Linked DNA regions of Homo sapiens: region 1 is linked to region 2. Evidence: promoter capture Hi-C in human tissues and cell types (Jung and others, 2019). All regions are on one chromosome and are shown on one strand. The core of a region is centred on a gene start or on the middle of the fragment in contact, and the rest is flanking DNA. Distances in the headings are between cores, read along the strand shown.

Evidence for each region. Contacts are between HindIII fragments. The study calls those that stand out against the background at their distance.
Region 1: a contact is called between a fragment that was not itself captured here and the fragment with the promoter of MFAP1 in region 2, in 1 of the 25 tissues and cell types used here (lymphoblastoid cells).

Annotation. Positions count from the first base shown.
Region 1 is chr15:44,444,698-44,448,010 of GRCh38, reverse strand. All of the region lies in intron 1 of CTDSPL2 (CTD small phosphatase like 2), which reads right to left. It also overlaps the pseudogene HNRNPMP1. Among named protein-coding and RNA genes, the nearest start is that of CTDSPL2, 19 kb to the right of the region's middle. The HindIII fragment of the contact is 6,367 bases long and covers 1-3,313 here.
Region 2 is chr15:43,822,898-43,826,399 of GRCh38, reverse strand. MFAP1 (microfibril associated protein 1) reads left to right here and starts at 1,710. Exons shown (of 9, transcript NM_005926.3): 1 at 1,710-1,909. The coding sequence starts at 1,831. RefSeq lists enhancers at 1,263-1,894, 1,647-1,906. The HindIII fragment of the contact is 35,410 bases long and covers 1-3,502 here.

The DNA of each region.
Region 1 (3,313 bases), core at 188-2,687, 620 kb before region 2:
GACGGGTGCCAACAGTCTGGAGAGGATGGGCATTAACAGCCTTGAGTGCATGGGTCCCGTCATGGGCCAGACACTGGGTGCTGAGACTGGGTGTATGGGCCTAGCCATGGATGGTGGTGGCCATGTCAGCTTTGACTGCGCCCACTTAAACTCTGGAGGAAGTTTGGCAGGGTCCTTTGGTGAGGCTGGAGGCCATGCTCCTGGCGGTGGCCAGGAAAGCCTACCAGGTATTTGTGAGAAATCTCCCATTTGATTTTACATGATCAAATTGACAAATACGGCCATGTGCTATAACCCAACATCAAGATGAAGAATGTGAAGTCCAAGGGATGTGGTTTGGTTAAGCTTGAGTTGCCAGAGGTGGCTGAGAGCCTGTCAGATGATGACTGGCACGAAGCCGAGTGGCCAAGAGATTGATGGGCAAATCGATAGAAATATGCCTTTTTTAAACATCAATATTTTGTATTTTTTTCTTGTTAACTATTTTAACTTGTTGGCTGGATATATAAAGATGTTTTAAAAATTCTGTTGCTTTTTGATGAAATCTGAATTACTTTTTTACTTTTTAAGGACTGGGGTTCTATTTGAACGTTTGCATTGAGATTGTAATATGCAAATTTTTTTGTAGTTGTGGCAACTTGCTGACATCAAACATAACTTTGATAATAAATACCAGTTGCTGGAAAAATAAAAAAAGAAAACCAATTCTCAATCTATTCTTTTCCAAAAAAGTTCTAAAATACTATATTTACCTGAACATGAAAAGGTTCCTATGTGCAAGGCACTGTGATAAATGCTTTCTCATGTTATTTCACTTAACCTTCTCAACCACATAAAGTAGTGTCTGTTATTTCCATTTTATGAAAGAAAAAGTATAAGGGGAGAAGACAGCAGAAGTGTTTTAAGTAAAAATTTCCACATAATTTCAATATAAATAACTTGCAATGTGAAAATAATATATTTATAACCAACAAAACATTTTAACTGATTAAAAAGTTACCAGGCTGGGTGCAGTGGCTCACGAGGTCTGGAGTTCGAGACCAGCCTGGCCAACATGGTGAAACTCTGTCTCTACTAAAAATACAAAAATTAGCTGGGCATAGTGGCAGGCACCTGTAATTCCAGCAACTTGGGAGGCTGAGGCAGGAGAATCACTTGAATCCGAGAGCAGAGGTTGCAGTGAGCTGAGATCACACCACTGCACTCCAGCCTGGGCAACAGACTGAGACTCCGTCTCAAAAAAAAAAAAAAAAAAAGTTCCCCAAGATTCCAATTTCCCTTTCTCTTTCTCTCTTTTTTTTTTTTGCCTGTTCCCTCTTCTGAGCCAGCAATTTCCCATTTTTCTCTAAGGTTTTTTGTTTGTTTGTTTGTTTGATTGTTTGAGATAGAGCCTTGCTCTGTCACCCAGGCTGGAGTGCAGTGGTTCTATCTCAGCTCACTGCAACCTCTACCTCCCAGGTTTAAGCAGTTCTCCTGCCTTGGCCTCCCAAGTAGCTGGGATTACAGGCGCATGCCACCACACCCGGCTACTTGTTTTCTATTTTTAGTAGAGACGGGGTTTTGCCATGTTGGCCAGGGCGGTTTCGAACACCTGACCTCAAGTGATCTGCCTGTCTTGGCCTCCCAAAGTGCTGGGATTACAGGCGTGAGCCACCGCACCCAGCCAGGTTTGTTTTTTACTTCTGCCTTTTGTCTGAATGGTCCATTGGAATGGGTAATTTTTCAGCTGAACCCCTGGCTGAACAAAACCTTAAGATAAAATTAACCTGTAAAAGCTGTAAGTTTATGGCAGGGCATGGTGGTTCATACCTGTAATCCCAGCACTTTGGGAGGTCGAGGTGGGTGGATCACGAGGTCAGGAGTTCGAGAACTGCCTGGTCAATATGGTGAAACCCTGTCTCCACTAAAAATACAAAAATTAACCAGGCGTGGTGGTGGGCTCCTGTAGTCCCAGCTACTTGGGAGGCTGAGGCAGAAGAATCGCTTGCACCCGGGAGGTGGAGGCTGCAGTGAGCCTAGATCGCGCCACTGCACTCCAGTCTGGGTGACAAAGCGAGAAAAAAAAAAAAAAAAAGGCCAGGCACAGTGGCTCACGCCTGTAATCCCAGCAGTTTGACAGGCCGAGGCAGGTGGATCATGAAGTCAGGCATTCGAGACCAGCCTGGCCAACAAAGTGAAACCCTGTCTCTACTAAAAATACAAAAAATTAGCTGGGCATGGTGGTGGGCGCCTGTAATCCCAGCTACTCGGGAGGCTGAGGCAGGAGAACAGCTTGAACCTGGAAGACGGAAGCTGCAGTAAGCCAAGATCGTGCCACTGCACTCCAGCCCAGGCGACAGTGCGAGACTCCATCTCAAAAAAAAAAAAGCAAAAAAAAAGCTGTGTTTTCAAATTGGCTGGTATGAGCTCAAAATTAAACTTCTGATAGAAACAATGTTACAAATACAGAGTAGAGTTCCAGGGCAGCTCCTATGTACATAGTTAACCCATAATATAACTGAATTCAAAAATCTAGAACCTAGGCCAGGTACAGTGGCTCACACCTGTAATGCCAGCACTTTGGGAGGCCAAGTCAGGTAGACCACTTGAGCCCAGGAGTTCGAGACCAGCCTGGGCAACATGATGAAACCCTGTATCTACTAAAAATACAAAAAAATTTGCTAGGTGTGATGGTGCATGCCTATAGTCCCAACTACTTGGGAGGCTGAGGTGGGAGGATCACCTGAGCCTGGGAAGTCGAAGCTGCAGTAAGCTGTGACTGCGTCACTGCACTGCAGACAGGGCAACAGCCGGAGTGAGACTCTGTCTCAAAAAGAAAAAAAAAAATCTGGAACCTAACCTATTATACAAATAATATGAAAAACTACAGCCGGGCGGGGTGGCTCACACCTGTAATCCCAGCACTCTGGGAGGCCGAGGCGGGCGGATCACAAGGTCTGGAGATCGAGACCATCCTAGCTAACACGGTGAAACCCTGTCGTCTCTACTAAAAATATAAAAAAAATTAGCCAGGTGTGCGCCTGTAGTCCCAGCTACTCGGGAGGCTGAGGCAGGAGAATGGTGTGAACCCGGGAGGTGGAGCTTGCAGTGAGCTGAGATCGCGCCACTGCACTCCAGCCTGGGCAACAGAGGGAGACTCCGTCTAAAAAAAAAAAAAAAAAAAAAAAAAAAAAACTACATTCCATATCTCAACACCAGGCCTATCTGTACCCCTACTAAAGTTATAGATATCTGGTACTGGGAAAACTATATATCTAAACGCCAAAAAAAAAAAAAAAACTACTTACCTTATACTACATAGAAAATTAACTCA
Region 2 (3,502 bases), core at 461-2,960:
TGGATCACTTGGGCCCAGGAGTTCCAAACCAGCCTGGGCAACATAGTGAGACCCCATCTCTATAAAAAATACAAAAATTAGCCCAGCGTGGTGTTGTACGTCTGTAGTCCCAGCTACTCAGAAGGCAGGGGTGGGAAAATGGCTTGAACCTAGAAGGATGAGGCCACAGTGAGCCGTGATTGCGCGGAACTCCAGCCTGAGCGACAGAGCAAGACCCTCTTCTATAAATAATAAAATAAGATTCTGGCTATTCTCTTTAAGGTTCCTTCTAGCCCAAAACTGTTTCCTTGGTTGCTTAGTTGGGTCCCACACTGTTCCTTGCCTGAGATTTGTCCAGTTTCATTTCTTCTCCCACTCAAGGCCCAATTGTAGAACACAGGTGAAGTAATTTGGGTTAATCATATTAATAGCAACTTCAAGGCCCCTCATGACTCAAAAATTACTGATAAAACCAAACTTTTCATGGTGTCCTGTATAAAACATACTGTTTCTGGACTTTAAGACTTTGTTCCTACTGTCCCTTGTCTCCCCCGCAGTTATAAAGTCCTTTCTACTGTGAAATGTGTCCTGACTTTCCAATTAGCCAATATTATATATATTTTTTAACACGACTCAGCTTGTAAATTGGAGCTGCTTCTGTTATTATCCTGTAAGTCCTTAAAGAGTTCTTAAATAGGCCGGGTGCGGTGGCTCACCTCTGTAATCCCAGCACTTTGGGGAGGCCGAGGTAGGTGGATCATCTGAGGTCAGGAGTTCAAGACCAGCCTGGGCAACATGGCGAAACCCTGCCTCTACTAAAAATACAAAAATTAGCCGGGAGTGGTGGCCCACGCCAACACTCAGCACTGTGGGAGGCCGGAGTGGGCGGATCACTTAAGCCTGGCCAACATGGTGAAACCTCGTCTCTACTAAAAATACAAAAATCAGCAGGGAGTGGTGGCAGGCGCCTGTAATCCCAGCTAATCAGAAGGCTGAGGCACGAGAATTGCTTAAACCCGGGAGGTGGAGACTGCAGTGAGCTGAGATCGAGCCACTGCACTCCAGCCTGGGTGACAGAAAAAGACAGTCTCAAAAGAATAATAATTACTTAGATATTTAAATACAAACATTTTCTAGCCAGGAATGTATTTTAATAGGTAGTTTCCAGAAACTGGAAAAACCTGAAAGCCTAAAAAAGTGGAGTTTTGGGATTTCAGGTGGGCAATGTCCCAGGCACCTCGGGAGTTTTTTTTTTTTTTTTTTCGGTCACTGGCCTAAATCAGCACCACCTGCCCTGTGAAACCAAATACCGCACCACAGCCCACCCTGGCCTTATGAACTAAGCTAATCGGATACTACTGGCAAGATTTTTATTCCATCAAACTCTACTTCTTCTGAGCTTTCAACAAGCCATTCAAACAGTAACTCACTGTCGCCTGAGTTTCTTATTCACTATACCGTTCTTGGCTTCAAACCAAGCTAACACGTAAAATCTTTCATTCGAACCTTCCTCACCGCAGAGTCCTAACAGCAAAGCCCAAAGGAAGCAAAATTTCCCGCCAAAAGCTGCTTCCAAATTCTGCGACGTAGAGGACATGCGGGCAGCCAATGAGCATGCGCAGAAACCGACTCGACTTCCTAGCTGTGGGCGCCCAAACGTCGTCCACCATCCCACAATCCTCTCGTCACGTATTTCCGGTTTATCTAGCTCAGCCGTAAGTAGTTTCTCTATCAGTCGCGCAGCTGTGTTCGCGGACTCAGGTGGAAGGAATTTCTTCTCTTCGTTGACGTTGCTGGTGTTCACTGTTTGGAATTAGTCAAGTTTCGGGAATCACCGTCGCTGCCATCAACATGTCGGTCCCAAGCGCTCTCATGAAGCAACCGCCCATTCAGTCTACGGCTGGGGCCGTCCCAGTTCGCAATGAGAAAGGTACGGTGCTAACACCCTCTTCCCAGTCGAATTTTAACCCCTTCCGGCCCCAGCAACCTCCAGACCTCTCCCGGACAGACCACTCCAACCCCGCCAGCTCTTGAGATCTGGCTGCCAGATTCTTCGATCTTTCCACCCCCACCCACTTGCATCCGATCTTGTTCCTGTGGCCTGCTCTCGTATTCAGCAAGCACCTCTCTTCTGTTAGCCTCCACAAATTCCTTAGACTAATGTTACATATATATAATATATATTACACATATAAAAACATTAGGAACTTAAGTATATATCAGAATATATATGTCTAATATATATATGCTAGAATATATGTATTAGTCTAATATATATTATGATTAGAATATAATATCACTAATTACATATAATTACAAGAATTTATGTATTATTAGTGTAATTACTTAGGAACTTAAGTATATTATTAATCTAATAATTAGGAACTTAAGTATATATCAGAATATGTATATAATATCAGACTAGATAGATAGATAGAGAATGCCTGTTGGCAGGGCATTGTGCGGGATACAGTCCCTCTTTTGCTGTCCATAGAAGTCTGCTTATGCTGCCCAGGCTGGACTCGAATTCCTGGGGCTCAGGCTGTCCTCCTGCCTCAGCCTCCCGAGTAGATGCCGCCGTATCTAGTCTCAACATGGCTTTTGAGAATTATCTTTGGATCCCTATACATCTAATTCATTCATCTTAACAGCTTATGAATTCCATTGTATAAAATAAACTGTAATCCACACTTTATTCCCTACTGAGAGGCAGGTGGTTGTCCCCTTGTTCAAAAAAGTGCTGCGGCCAGGCACGGTGTCTTATGCCCATAAACCCAGCACTTTGGGAGGCTGAGGCGGGCTGAACACCTGAGGTCAGGAGTTCAAGACAGCCTGGCGATCATGGCGAAACCCCGTCTCTACTAAAAATACAAAAAATTAGCCATGCATGGTGGTGGGTACCTGTAATCCCAGCTACTTGGGAATCTGAGGCAGGAGAATTGCTTGAACCCGGGAGGTGGAGGTCGCAGTGAGCAGAGATCGCACCATTGCACTCCAGCCTGGGCCACAGTGTGAGACACTCTCTCAAAAAAAAAAAAAGAAAGTTCTGCAATTGTCATTCTCTAGCCAATACTAGCTTTATTTAGTACCTGTTGCCAATTGCTCCCCAAAGTAAGTTATAAGAACATAAGAATTTGTGGAGCACAGTGGCTTACACCTGTAATCTCAGCACTTCGGGAGGCTGAGGCAGGAGGATCGCTTGAGGCCAGGAGTTCAAGACCAGCTTGGGCAACATAGCGAGACCACCCCCCACCCCCGCCAATCTCTGCAAAAATAAAAATTAGGGCCCGGCGCGGTGGCTCACGCCTGTAATCCCAGCACTTTGGGAGGCTGAGGCTGGTGGATCACCTGAGGTCAAGAGTTCGAGACCAACCTGGCCAACGTGGTGAAACCGTCTCTACTAAAAATACAAAAATTAGCCAGGTGTGGTGGCAGGCGCCTGTAATCCCAGCTACTCGGTAGGCTGAGGCAGGAGAATCACTTGAACTCAGGGGGCAGAGGTTGCAGTGAGCCGAGATCGCAC